Linked DNA regions of Homo sapiens: region 1 is linked to region 2. Evidence: promoter capture Hi-C in human tissues and cell types (Jung and others, 2019). All regions are on one chromosome and are shown on one strand. The core of a region is centred on a gene start or on the middle of the fragment in contact, and the rest is flanking DNA. Distances in the headings are between cores, read along the strand shown.

The links. Contacts are between HindIII fragments. The study calls those that stand out against the background at their distance.
Region 1: a fragment that was not itself captured here is called in contact with the fragment with the promoter of COBL in region 2 in 3 of the 25 tissues and cell types used here (dorsolateral prefrontal cortex, hippocampus and liver).

What each region holds. Positions count from the first base shown.
Region 1 is chr7:51,273,133-51,280,005 of GRCh38, reverse strand. The region is part of intron 1 of COBL (cordon-bleu WH2 repeat protein); the gene reads left to right. Among named protein-coding and RNA genes, the nearest start is that of COBL, 40 kb to the left of the region's middle. RefSeq lists enhancers at 3,905-4,901, 5,337-5,836, 5,837-6,338. The HindIII fragment of the contact is 6,486 bases long and covers 1,511-6,873 here.
Region 2 is chr7:51,315,541-51,322,404 of GRCh38, reverse strand. COBL (cordon-bleu WH2 repeat protein) reads left to right here and starts at 5,596. Exons shown (of 13, transcript NM_015198.5): 1 at 5,596-5,812. The coding sequence starts at 5,772. It overlaps LOC124901633 (a long non-coding RNA gene), which reads right to left and starts at 5,421. Exons shown (of 2, transcript XR_007060324.1): 1 at 5,181-5,421; 2 at 4,073-4,358. RefSeq lists enhancers at 4,152-4,744, 4,745-5,338. The HindIII fragment of the contact is 18,220 bases long and covers 1-6,864 here.

The DNA.
Region 1 (6,873 bases), core at 3,504-6,003, 42 kb after region 2:
AAAGTGCATGTTCCTGTTATATTCAGGCAATGGAATATTATTTAATGCTAAAAAGAAATGAGCCATCAAGCCATAGAAAGACATGGAAAAACCTTAAATACATGTTACCAAGTGAAAGAAGCCAATCTGAAAAGGCCACATGCTGTATGATTCCAACTCTGTGACATTCTGGAAAAGGCAAGATAAGATCAGTGTTTGCTGTTGCCAGGGGTCAGGAGGGGGAAAGAGCAGGAACAGAGGATTTTTAGGGAAATGAAAATACTCTGTATGATACTATGATGATGAATACGTGTCATTGTACATTTGTCCTAACCCACAGAATGTGCGACACCACAGGTGAACCTTAATGTAGGTTGTGGACGCTGGGTGATAATAATGTGTCCACAGAGGTTCATCAGTGGCAACAGATGTTCCAGTCTGGTGGGGCGTGGGTTGTCGGGGAGGCTCTGCATGTGTAAGGTCAGAGGGAATACGGGCAATCTCTGCACCTCCCTCTCAACTTTGCTTTGAACTTAAAACTGCTAAAAGAAAAAAGTCTATTTTAGAAAAATGTGCCAGTTGATTTCATATTAAAATAATTGGAGAACCTGGTGAATATAGTTAAAAATTTCAGGTGATTTATTTAATAACAAAGAGGAAACAGAATTATTAAAGAAAGTATAATGCACGTTGGAAGTACATGGAGTAAATGCCACCCATTCCCTTTAGTCTTTAGTAGTTAGTCATGGCTCTCTTAATTAGCTTCTTCCATACATTTTTGGGATTATATCCCTTATGACCAGGGATTTAGTGTAGCTACTTTGAAAGATGCTGAAACTTCATGATGAATTTAAAATGTGTGCCACGCCTTTCCCATACATTTGTCAGGCAGCCTCTCTGTGTATCACTGGGTTTTTAGAAAGCCAAGCCATAGGATTATTCACTGTCAGTGCAGGACTAGTACACAGGGCAGGCCCTGATGGTAATTTGAGTATGACAACAGCTGTATCACTCCTTACAGGACTGCAAGTGTCTTAGGAGAAAAGCATTTCCCCGGCCACCTGCCGCCTGCTGCGTGGGTGCTGTGATTAGTCACAATGTGCATTGTGCTGGGTGTGTTTTGTAGTTTTGTTGTTCCTGTAATTGACAGTTATCTCCAAACTGAAATCGTCTGGAAAAGCAGATGCTACACGTTGGGGGATTTTAATTTTCCTGTTCTCTAGATGATTGGTGTCATTTTCATACTGTAAAAAAGTGTGCTGTTATTTTTGCTTTTGGTAGAAGGGCACATGGTGGGGCTGGTCTATCACTGCCTGGATTTGGAGGCTTGAGTCAAGAACCTGTCTAGGCCAGGTGCCGTGGCTCACGCCTGTAATCCCAGCACTTTGGGAGGCTGAGGTGGGTAGATCACCTGAGGTCAGGAGTTCGAGACCAGCCTGGCCAACATGGTGAAACCCCGACTCTAATAAAAATACAAAATTAGCTGGGCGTGGTGGCACACGCCTGTAATCCCAGCTACTTGGGAGGATGAGGCAGGAGAATTACTTAGAACATGGGAGGCAGAGGTTGCAGTGAGCCGAGATCGCGCCATTGCACTCCAGCCTGGCGACAGAGTGAGACTGTGTCTCAAAAAAAAAAAAAAAAAAAGATCCTGTCTAAATATAGCATGCTTGTCTCCCCAGGCAGCTGGGAGGAGGGGCCTGCATGATCATAGATGAGGGTGCCTTGTCCACCTGGCTCTGGGCTCTCACTGAGCATGCTCTTCCTTGGGACGGCTTCTCAATTCAGCTAATCTCCAGATTAGATTCACCCTGTTTGGTGTGCATGTGTGTGGGAGTCTCTGTGAATGTGGAGCTTCTAAATTTATTTATCATTTGATACGGGTATTGCGTTCTAGTATTTGCAGAGCTGGCACTCAAGGCTGGCCACTATGTTTTTAGTTCAGAGATATGATTCAGAGAGATGATTGTAGTTGAGACGTCCCTAGGGGCCCGCTGTTGATTTGTTGTGTCTCTCTGCTGTACTTCACGCAGGCACAGAGAAGAGATCAGTAAATAACGAAATGAATCTGCCCTATGATGTTGACAGATATGTCCTCTCTTACTTGCTAGTTCCTCAGAGGCAGCTTGGGAATATTGTTGGGTGGTCAGAAAGTATTTAGAGAGTCTGGGCTACAAGTGACATGACTTGTCTGTCCATCTGCTGTGCCTCTTGAGTGTTCTTACCTGGCTCTGTGCCCCCTGCTCTCACAATGCCCTGCCGTGCTGGATCCCTGTAGCAACACTGTAGGGGCGGCATTGTTACCACCTCCATTTGGCAGTGTAGAAACTACAATGGGCAGAGTATTCCACCCTTGTATCTCTCTAGCAGCCCGTCCATCCCTTCCTCTAGCCCGCTGTCCAACTTGCTATTTGTTAGTGTCTAATATACACACCATGAATTAGCCCAAAGTCGGGTGGGCGGGATGAGGGCACCGACTCTTGCTGCGTGTGAGCTGAAGTATCAGAGAGAGATTACCACTGTGTGCTCAACAGTCCTGTCGTCAATTTTTAAAGATATATTTTTTAACTTTTTATTTTGGAATAACAAAGAATTCCCACGTCGTCTTCAGCTAGATGCCACAGATGTTAACAGGTGTGTTTGCTCTATTCTCTCTCTCCTTCCCTCACAAGCACATGTGTGTATTTACACTTCTGCATGCACACATGCACACACACAGATGCACACACATACCTTCTCTCTTAGAGCAAGGCACACATATTCATGAACTCACCCTCAGGCTTCCGTGAGAGCAGACCTAGCCCATTTTAACTTAGTCGGTCATTGGCTTGGGTCCCTGCGCATGTGTGGCCGTCATGGAAACAGGGAAGGCCTTGTTCTGTGCCTTGGCAATGAGCATCCCTGGCCTGGCTCTGGGAAGGATGACTGGCCTGTGATCCTTTCCTCCAGGTGCTGCTTTGGTAGAGGTTGATGATGGGGCCTCAGTGGAGCTGGTGTGAGGACAGGAGGGCTGTGTCATTGTCTTCTGGCCCTCACCATCTGTGTGTTCGCTGCTCCCAGATGCATCTCCTTTTCTGTGGTGCCCTCTCCTACATTTCACCTCTTAGCTGGTCAAATCTTATGAGCCTCAGCTGACTCCTCTCCCTTGTATGGTAAAAGCCACCTCTGAACTCTTCCCTTTCTGGGCCCAGGCACCCTTAAGGGCCAGCCAACACCAGCGTCCAGCTTTCCAGAATGCCCTTGGGTTTTCCTCCCATCTCCTGGAGGTGTCTTCCTTCTTACCTGCCTGCTCACTCTGCAAGGCCTGTTCACATCTCCCCTTTGCCCCACACAGCTGCAGCTCCCAGCCACCCCAGCTCAGCCCTGGCAGTGTTTACTGCGGGCAGTGGGTTGTGTCTGTGTCTCCTTTCATCCCCCACACCTTGTGCAGTCCCTGGCGGGTTGGAGGTGTTCCTTAAAGCTTGTGGAAGGTTTGAACGATAAATGACAAGGACTGGCATTATCAAGAGGGGAAGGAAAAGCCTGAAAAGCAAGAAAGCCCACAGTGGATAGGGCTTGTGGCAGGCAAGGCCACCTGTGTGCAGTCCCTGGGTATGGCCCGTCCCCGGCCGGAGGAGCTTCCACAGGGTGACTCCTTTCATAGAAGCTCAGGTTCCATTCGCCTTTCCCAGAAGGAACCCCAGGACAGGGCTCCCAGGAAGCCACAGCAGGACCAACTTACATAGCTCTTGGTGCTGCTGCCTTTTACTGCCACGACAGTCCCCAGCCTCCCTGAAACAGTTACTCATGGATTAAGAAATGTCTGAGAACAGCTTCAAAATGTGCTGTGCATGAGTGCTGTCACCCAGCCCATATCTGTGAATGCCAATTAAAATGGGCTCCTTAGAATTCCTGTGTTATTGTAAACAGAAGAAGTTGCATGGTCCCAGAGCCTCAGTGCACATTTTCATTTATGAGCTTGATATTTGTTTCTTCAAACAATTCTTCCCCCAATGTTTATCATTTAGAAAAGCCAAAGGGCTTTTGTAGGAAAAAGGATGAGGCTCATTTCCATTGAAGAGTAAATATAAGGAAGATAAGGGCTTCTTTATTAAAACAGACAACCTCACAAAACCCCGGCAGAGCAGGTCAGAGGAAAAGAAAACAAGCAGGGGAGAGAGAGGCCTACAGCCCCTAATCAGGCTGTGGAAACATTCTCATCAATCAGCATGGAGACAGGGGCCTTGATTTTCCACTGTGAGGGGAAGGTGGAATCGCCAGCCTTCTGGGCTCTGTGTTTTCACCGTTGTTGGGACAGGCCTCCTGGGTGGGCTGCGTGCGGAGCTCACAAGAGCAGTCACGGCTGGTGGTGGCTGGTGGCGGCTGGTGGTGGTTGGTGGCGGCTGGTGGTGGCTGGTGGCAGCTGATGCCAGTGGCGGTGGTGGTGGTGGCAGGTGGAGCTGGAGTGCACTGTTGCTGAGGGTGCCTTGAGAGAGACCCAGGGGAGAATTCCCCCCAGACCTGCTCTGCATGGGCTGCGGTGACCACATGTGGCCGTGGAGCTGGGATCTCAGAACAGCCAGGCCCTGTCAGACAGAACTGGAGGCAGTGGTTCCCCAGCAATCAAAAACAAATCCTCGTTGTAAAAAGGGAGTACTGAACCTTGACATAGAACTTTCTTCAATTTCGCACAGCATTACTGGCAGAGGGAAAAAACCAGGAGGATGGAGGGGACTTGTGCCTCAAAATTTGGATACAAATCAGCCTTGTTCTTGCCTCTCCCTCAGGTCCTTTGCAGGAGGGCAGCCTGGACACTGTGCAACTGTCCCCTCCACAGCCAGCCCTTGGGCCTCTCCCCTCCAGCCCGCAGGGGTGACCCCTCTCTCTCATGTGCAGAGCAGAACAAACATGGAGCGGCTCCACGTGCGTCCCTCACCTGTCCTGAGCCTCTCCCGTCCTCTTCAGCCCTGTCTTTGTTGCTTCTCACTGCTCTGTCTCCCTGGAAGATGGAGGTTCAGGCAGCAAAGAGTTGAATTGCACGGCCAGATGATTTGTATTTTAATTTGTTAATATCGGTGTTTCCCACTTCAGACAAAGCCATGTGCGTACATATGCAGACCTAAAAATCAAATCAAATGATTGCTATCAGAGAATTCTTTTTACTGAAAGTATCTCAGAAAACCCTGAAAGTATCTCAGATTCCCAAATGCTGATCTTCTATCTTATATTTTAAAACATGACTGGTTTACAAAAATTAATACTTACACTGTTGTTTTCTAGAATACGTCTGTTGTACAAGGCATGGCATCCCTGAACTTGGAGTTTTCATATGAAAGTCATTTATTGAATGAAAATCCTCCACTGCACAAATAGGAAAGGACATTTTGAGCCTACGCACAAAAGTGTGCTTAATGATGGGCTAGAGTATTTCAGCTGAGCTCCTGAGGCTCAGCCTTCCATAGTAAAGTCACTGCATCTGTGAAAAAGTGGTCTTCTCTGCCCAGCACCAGACATCCATTCTGTGGGGTACAATTCTTTCCTTCTTTCATGGATAATGAATGGTCAGCTTGGCTGGTTTCTTTGAAAGCAAAGACTAAGAAGTGGAATGCAGTCAGGAGCCTGTTGTGTTGATGAGACAAACAGATGAAGGGGAGCTCACCTAGAGCTGCCTCAGGACCATGCCCAGGAGGACACATTCAAGATTTTGGCGGTGATACAGTCAGCACTGGAGGACAAAGGACAGGGTGCTCTTCTCCTGCGAGCAGTGAGGGTCATGTGCAGTGTGTTTGGGAGGGAAGGTGTGTTTGGGAGGGAAGGCGTTGCAGCAAGGCTGGGTGTGAGTTTGAAGTGCTGTGTGTCTACCGTGTGGGGAGTGAAGCGGGAGGCGGCCCATGCGATGCACAGCTGGCAGCTGCAGGTCCTGTGCTGGGGAAGGGGAGCGAGGGCCTCACTTAAGGCATGGACTGGGGGGAACTGTGAGCATGGTGGTATTCGAGGCTACGATGTCCTGTGGTCTAAGGAGAGCATTACAGGGAAGGGAGGAGAGCCCAGAACAGATGACTGAAGAAGATCGCATTTGATGGGTGAGGGGGACCCAACTGCTACAGGGGGAGTTGGCGTCACCAGAGAAAACAGCACTGGGTACGTGAACTGTGGCGGTTCGATGACACTTCAAAATATAAACACCTAAAATAGGTTTTATGAGGCGTTGGCATTCCCAAAACACTGAAGTGTTTAAGTATTTTGGGAATTGTATTTAATTATTGAACAATTTAGGCAAGTTAGCTATTTTCAAATAGGTAAAATTAGTTTGTCTCTCTGGTAGAACTTGTCATTCATTTTTAGAATCTTGAGTTTTAAATGCCAGATAGATCCAGCTGCTATAAATATGCTGCAGATGTAGCTGTCCAGTCACTCAGACAGGCAAGAGCTGATGATTGAGGACTAATTTTCAGTCTAACGGCAGAAGCAGGTGTCACAAGGTAAGTCAGCTTCAAGGCTTCATTCCCTGATGTCAATGATGACTTCCTTAGGAATGTCACTGCAGATATGGGTTTGTTTTTGTTTTTTGGTAAATGAGGAATTTTAGATAGTGGTAGCTACTGTTCACCACACATAACCTTTGTAACAAGCTAGAATATACATTAAAAATTCACAAAGTATGCAGCTTTGTATTTTGAGATAACTTTCTTTTCTTTTTCTTTTTTTTTTTTTTTTTTTGAGATGGAGTCTTATTCTGTTGCCCAGGCTGGAGTGCAGTGGCACGATCTCAGCTCACTGCAACCTCTGCCTCCAGGTTCAAGCGATTCTCCTGCCTCAGCCTCCCAAGTAGCTGGGATTACAGGCATGTGCCACCATGCCCGGCTGATTTTTGTATTTTTAGTAGAGGTGGGGTTTCACCATGTTGGCCAGGCT
Region 2 (6,864 bases), core at 4,347-6,846:
ACTGGCTGGAGAAGAGGACTTTGGATGCATGACTCTCCCATTCCCAAAAACAGCACCCCCAGCCGCCCCCCCGCACCACCTTGGCCCAGCTCAGGTGACATGTACACCTGCCAGAGCGCAATGACGGGTGTTTGGCTCTTGTTTCTGCTTTAAGTTCTTTTCAAGGGGCCAGGACTCTAGCTGCATGGTTGTGCAGGGAACTATGCACCAAAAGCAAGTGAACAAGTCTGAATAGTAAGAGTTATGTGGATTGATTGCTTACCAGTGTCAGGTACCACCGCAAGAAATTTGCACACTTTATCCCGTGTAATCCTCCCCCTGGGCCTGGTGAGTAGGCACTATTCTTACCCCCGGAAGGCAGAACTACTGTTATGCCATCACTTGCTCACTTGTTGTAGTAAAGTCAGCTTTGAAAAGTTGCAACTGGCCAGGCACGGTGGCTCACGCTGTAATCCTAGCACTTTGGGAGGCTGAGGCGGGTGGATCACCTGAGGTCAGGAGTTCAAGACCAGCCTGGCCAACATGGCAAAACCCTGTCTCTACTAAAAATACAAAAAAAAATTAGCCTGTCATGGTGGTGAATGCCTGTAGTCCCAGCTACTCGGGAGGCTGAGACAGGAGAATTGTTTGAACCTGGTGGGTGGAGGTTGCAGTGAGCCGAGATCATGCCACTTCACTCCAGCCTGGGCGAAAGAGTGAGACACCATCTCAAAAACAAAACAAAACAAAACAAAAAAAAGTTGCATCCATAATGGTTTAGTTTCTAAATCTGTGTTAGACTGCATGGGCTGCCATAACAAAATATCACAGACTGCGCGGCTTAAACAACAAAAATTCATTTTCTCACAGTTCTAGAGGCTGGAAGTCCATGATCAAGGTGCCACTGCGGTTGGTGAAGAAAGAGAGAGAGCTCTGTTGTCTTTTCCTCTCCCAATAAAGACACCAGCCCTATAGGATCAGGGCCCCCCCACCCTTATGACCTCACTTAAACTTACTCACTTTTCTAAGTTTCTATCTGTAATTACCCTTACACTGGTTACAGTGACAGTTTCTACTCTAATTACAGTTATATTCAACTTATGAATTTTGAGGGGAAACAATTCGGTCCATAACACATTCAAAATAAAGATCCTTTTGGTATCTAAATTTGCATTAATCATATGGTATGCTTTATTTATTTAAAAGGTCCTTACAATTTTGTAAGATTCAGGCCCTTTGAAATCTGGATCCACCCCTGAATATTCTCATTTTAGAGAGGAGGACACTAAAGCCTAGAGAGAAGTAATTTGCTCTCGGCAATACCACCAGTGAGTGGAAGATCAGGCCCGAAGATGCTCACTGTGTTTGACCCTAAACCCTCGCTACTCAAAGCGTGCTCCCTGGGCCAGCAGTCTCCACTTCCCTGGGAGCTTGTTAGAAACATAGACTCTCAGGTCCCAGCCAGACTCACTGCATCACGAACTAAATCTTAATAACATCCCAAGAAGTATCCACGTTTACGAAGCCCTGCTTTAAACTGGACTGCTTCCATCTGTGTCTTTGATGTGCTTTCTTCCTTTCATTTTCCCTCCAGAAAGAGCAGCTGGTGTGACTGCAGGCACCCACCTCGAGTCATGGAGAGCTGAGTGTACGCCGATGGGGGCTGTTGAGACCCCAGGTGTGCCTGGGAGGAGAGTTAGGAGCAAAGAAGGGGGATGGGGTTAGACCAAGGAGAGAATGTCCTTCAAGTAGCCTTACACCCTGGTCTCAGGGTAGCTCCTACTGCTTGGGGCAAGAGCTGATGCCACTGTAGTCCAGAGCTATAGCCAAGGGCACCCATTACAGCCCATATCAGGACACAAGCATGGTGTCCTGGGACAAAGAGCAGCACTCAGCCATGCTCTGTGGATGAAGGGGCAAAGGTTCTGCTTTCACGCATGTGGGAAGGCAAATCATGGAGAGTTGCGGTCTTGCTGCATCTTCTGTAACTCCCTGTTCAGTGACTTTACAACACCCTAGCTTGAAATCTGCCAAGGTGCGTTTACACTACAAAAACTGGCAAATGCTACAAATAGGGGCTCTTTTTAAAAAAATTTAAAAATATCATTTGTAAGCATTTATCAGCACATCCCTGGATGTTTGCCACACTATAAAATATAGATGATTTAGTGATGGTCGACATCTGAAAAAGTGGCTGAGTGTGGTTGCTCATGCCTGTAATCTCAGCACTTTGGGAGGCTGAGGTGGGCAGATCACTTGAGGTCAGGAGTTTGAGATCAGCCTGGCCAACAGGGTGAAACCCCATCTCTAATAAAAATACAAAAAATTAGCCGGGCGTGGTGGCAGGCGCCTGTAATCCTGGCTACTTGAGAGGCTGAGGCAGGAGAATCGCTAGAACATGAGAGGTGGAGGTTGCAGTGAGCCGAGATTGCGCCATCGCACTCCAGCCTGGGCAACAGAACGACTCCCTCTCAAAAAAAAAAAAAAAAAAGTGACAGTTTTAATAAGGACATTTAAAAGCATGTGCAGGAAAGAGTCCATAAAGAACACCTTTCCCTTTGAGTTTCCCTAGCGTGTGATTGTGCCATTTGCTCTGCTGAAGTCAGTAAGCACAGGAAGGAGTGCGTTCTGCTCAGTGACAAGTGGTAGGCTGATCTTGGTGACATCCTCTACAAGGCCCCACTCAGCCCTTTGCTTTCAGCCCATCACCTATTCCTCTTTCTCACTGTCTGTCTGGAAGAGCTCAGCCCTGTCTGTTACTGATTTCCTTGCCTAGCCCTCCCTATGAGGTGGCCACATCCACACCGCAGACAAAGGCTGGCATACAGTAGATGCTCAGAAATATCTGTTGAACTATACAATTTTGGAAAACAACTCCCCACAGTTGCATCTCTTGGGGCCCTTATCAGTCAGGGAAGTGTGGGTGGCAATATGCACAGAATCTGATCAGGTCCTAGGCCCCGCCTGCCCCCCCAGGCTCTGTGCCCCTCCCCACAGTTGACACAAGTGATCGGCAGTCCTGGCCCATTTAGATTGCAGGCCCTGGGTCACAGCGTGAAGCTCCTCCCTCTGGCAGAAGTCTGACCTTTACTCTGTGTCTCATCCTGACAGCTCTAACCAGGCTTAACCCTCCACTTCATTTCTGGAAACTGGTCCCTGTTGGGTTTCTGAGTAGATGTCTGGGGGCCTTCCAAGGATCTGAGGTTGTCCAGGCCTAGGGTCACCTGGGCCTTTTTCCTAGAACAGCAAGTTGCATCTTGGCCTGGAGGTGGCACGTCACCTCCTTCTCATTGTTTTTCTGGATGTTGAGGAGCTCTCTTACTCTTCACCATCCACCTGCTTCGGGCTTCCTGTTGCCATCTGTGCTCAGCATCTGAGACACTGGGTCACTCCGGGCTTCTTTTGCTCCATGTCCCCACCATACTTCCTCTTGCTGCCTCTGCCAGGTGCTTGGAGTATGTGTCACCTGTGAGGTGGACTTCTCCTTAGGGATTTCAATGGGGTCTGGCTCACAGTGCCTAGTCTAGTTTTCAGCTCTGGCCCCTCCTGGGCAGCCCTTCCCATGGTGGTGTCCAGAGCAAGGAGGGGCTCCCCAGATTTTGGGAGAGACTCTCTAATACCCACACCCAAGGTGCAAGAAGAGATTCATTCATTCAGTGCACCCTTTGTTTACTGAGCACTGACTCCACCCTGCTAGGCACTGCCCTAGATGCTGGGGGTGATAAATCAGACAAAGGCCCAGCGCTTGCTAAGATCACATGCTAGGGAGGAGACCAATGGCAAACACATGAGCAAAATATATGCGGAATAGGATATGTTATTTATGTTTTTTATTCCATTTATATATAATGTATATACATATTTATAAGTTTACATAAATACAAATTTTATGCATTCATATAAACATGTCTATAAATATAACACATTACATGTAAACATTTCTTTATAAACTTACATTTAAATATAAACACACACATATATACACACATACACATATACACACACACATATATATATACACATACACACATACACACACACATACAGTGACAAATGCTCAGAAGAAAATTAGGACAAGGCAGCAGTCAGGAGCTTGAGTGAGAGCTGCTTTTATTTTGTGTTTTAAGACAGGATCTCACTCCATTGTCCAGCCTGCTCCCCACTCGCCGCCCCGCCCCGTAGCTGGGATTACAGGTGTGTGCCACCATGCTCCGCTAATTTTTTTATTTTGTAGAAAGTTCTCCCAGGTTGCACAGGCTGGTCTCCGACTCCTGAGCTCAACTGCTCCTCCGGCCTTGGCTTCCCTGAGTGCTGAGGTTACAGGTGTAAGCCACTGTGCTCCGCAGGGTGCTTTTAGACAGAGAGGCCAGGAAAGGCTCCTTGGGGAGACCACGGGATGAAAAGGAGGAGGAAGAGCACTGTGGAGCAGCATCCCAGCCAGAGGCCCTGAGCCGGGAAAGCGCTCCACTCATGGGAGGCTGGGCTGCAGGGAAGTGAGCCCCAGGGCCACCTGGGGACTTAGGAAACCTTCTAGGTGGGAGCAGGGAGCACCCAAGATCTGCCAGCCACGAGTAAGGACTCACATTTTGCATATAGACTGGTCTGCCCCCCCTTCAGTTAATGAGAAAGCAGGGGATCAGAGGGAGGAAGGCTGCGCAGGCCTCTGGATACCTCATCCAATGACAAGATCGCAAGGGGAGCGTCACCCCCAACGCTATCAGGCTCGCCCGATCTGGCCTCTTGTTGGTCTTTTATTCGAGTCATTGAAACCATATGAAACTGCCACTTTTATAGGTCAGCCCATCATACCAACCAAGATCTTAGAGAGTGGAGGTGAAGTTGGGCAGATAAGGGACCTCTGGCTGACTTGCTCTGGGCCCCGGCGTGGCCGGCAGGACCTGCATATCTGCCCGCCAGCCCGCACTGGAGTGGCAGGGTTGTGCCACAGTAGCGCCCAGTGAATCAGGTTGGCAAACTTAAGCGAGCATTCACCTAGAGCGAGTGAGTTGTTAGCAAAGCGAGGCCGCGCTCCAGCCCGCACTGTTTCTGATTCCGTGGGACCTGGTGGGCCCCAGAAATCTGCATTTCTAACAAGTTCCCAGGTGTTCCTGACGCTCCCGGTCGGGACTCCCACTTTGCGACCCTACGCACTAGACATTTGCTGCACGGATAAAGGTCAGAGAGCGGTGCCGGACACTCACTTCTCACCCTCCAACGTCAGTCCTCCCGGGCTGGTCCGCCCACCTCGCCCTCGCACGGCCTCCAGGCTCCAGGTGGTTCCCCTCCCCCAACTCCGCCAGGAGGCGCCGGCCCCGGGATCCCCCACTCCGCCCAGAGAGGGTCGCGCTCCCCCCAGGGGTGGAGGAGCACGGGGAGAAGCCCTCTGCCGCACCCGCGGGTGTCGGTGCAGGGCCCAGGTGCCGGAGGATTCCTTCCCCGGACGCTCGCCGCGGGCCGGGTCGGGACTCTGAGCAGGCGGGGCGGGGCGGGGCGGGGGCGGCGCTCCGGTGGGCGCGGCAGAGCAGCCGGGGCGGGGGCGCGGCGCACCTTGCTCCCGGCGCCCCCGCCCCGCGCCGCCGCCAGCCCCTCCCTGCGCTCCCGGCGCCCCCGCCCGCTAGAGACGATTCCAGCCCCTTCCGTCCGCCGCGCTCCGCCGCTGTCCTCCGCCGGCCCGCGTGGGAGGACGATGGGTCAGCGCGGAAAAAGTGAATGAGGGCGGCAGCGGTGGCGGCGGTAGCCAGCGCCTGACTCGGCGGGCCCGGAGCACCGCCCGCGTCCCGGCCCCCGGCACCATGGACGCGCCGCGCGCCTCGGCGGCCAAGCCCCCGACCGGGTAAGCGGCCCCGCGGTCGGGCGGGGTGGAGAGGGGGCTTCCCTGGGCTCGGACGCCCGCGTCCGCACCGCGCGCTCCCGGGCAGGGCGCCCTCTCTGCCGCCCCAGCGGGTGCTGGTGGTAGTGGTGGAGCAGGTGGTGCGGTGCTGGTGTTGGGTGCTGGTGTTGGGTGGTGGTGCGTGCTGTGTACTTTGGGCACCCGGGTCGTTGCCCAGGTAACCGTGTCGGGCCGGGGCCGGAGCGCACTTTTCGCGCGGGGTGGTTTGTATGCAGGCGTCCTTATGGGGGTCCCCGCCAGCACAGCCCCCACTCAGCTCCGAGCTTTCCTCAGGCCCCCCAAGTGTTTGCCGTAGGGGTGGAGCGGGGAGCGAGGGGACGCCCGGCCTTTGACTCCGGCCTCTTCCCTGCGGGCTTGCCCCTGGCCGGTTCCCATCAAGTCTTCCCTCTCCCGGCCTCGGCGGCAGCCCCAGGATCGGCTCTCCCGGCAGCGTGGAGGGGAGGGCTCCCCGGCTTCGCAGCCGCCCGGGCCCCGCGTTCTCGGAAGGTGTTCGGATTGCCCGGAGGGTTTCATGGCAGCAGCTCTCCCTCCCTGCCTTTATTCCAGGGTCTCCCCTGGCAGTGGAAGGGGCGTCCTAGTGGGGCCAGGCCTGAGGCGCAGACATCCGTAGCGGACCCGCGAGTCTGGCGGCCCATCCCTGTCTTCGCGATTCCGCTTTTGCCCAAACCTCTCCCGGTTTCTGTTTGCTATCCCCACACCTTGCGTGCAGGGATTACACGTCACATTCAGGATTTGACTCTCAGAAAGAGTAATTTCCCTCAAACAGGACGAGCAGCCCTGCTCATTATTCAGACCCCGAGCCAGGTGCGCCGTGCTCATCCCGGCCAGCGGTGCAGGCTGGGCCGCGGGGTAGCGCGCAGTCCCGGTGGACTTTGTAGTTTTCAGCGCGGCGCGCCGGGGACCTTCGAACTCGCTCGCTCGCCTGGAGCAAATGTGTATGAGTCTTGCAAATGGAATGAGGGTTGGGGTGAGCCCTGCACCTGCTTACTGAATGG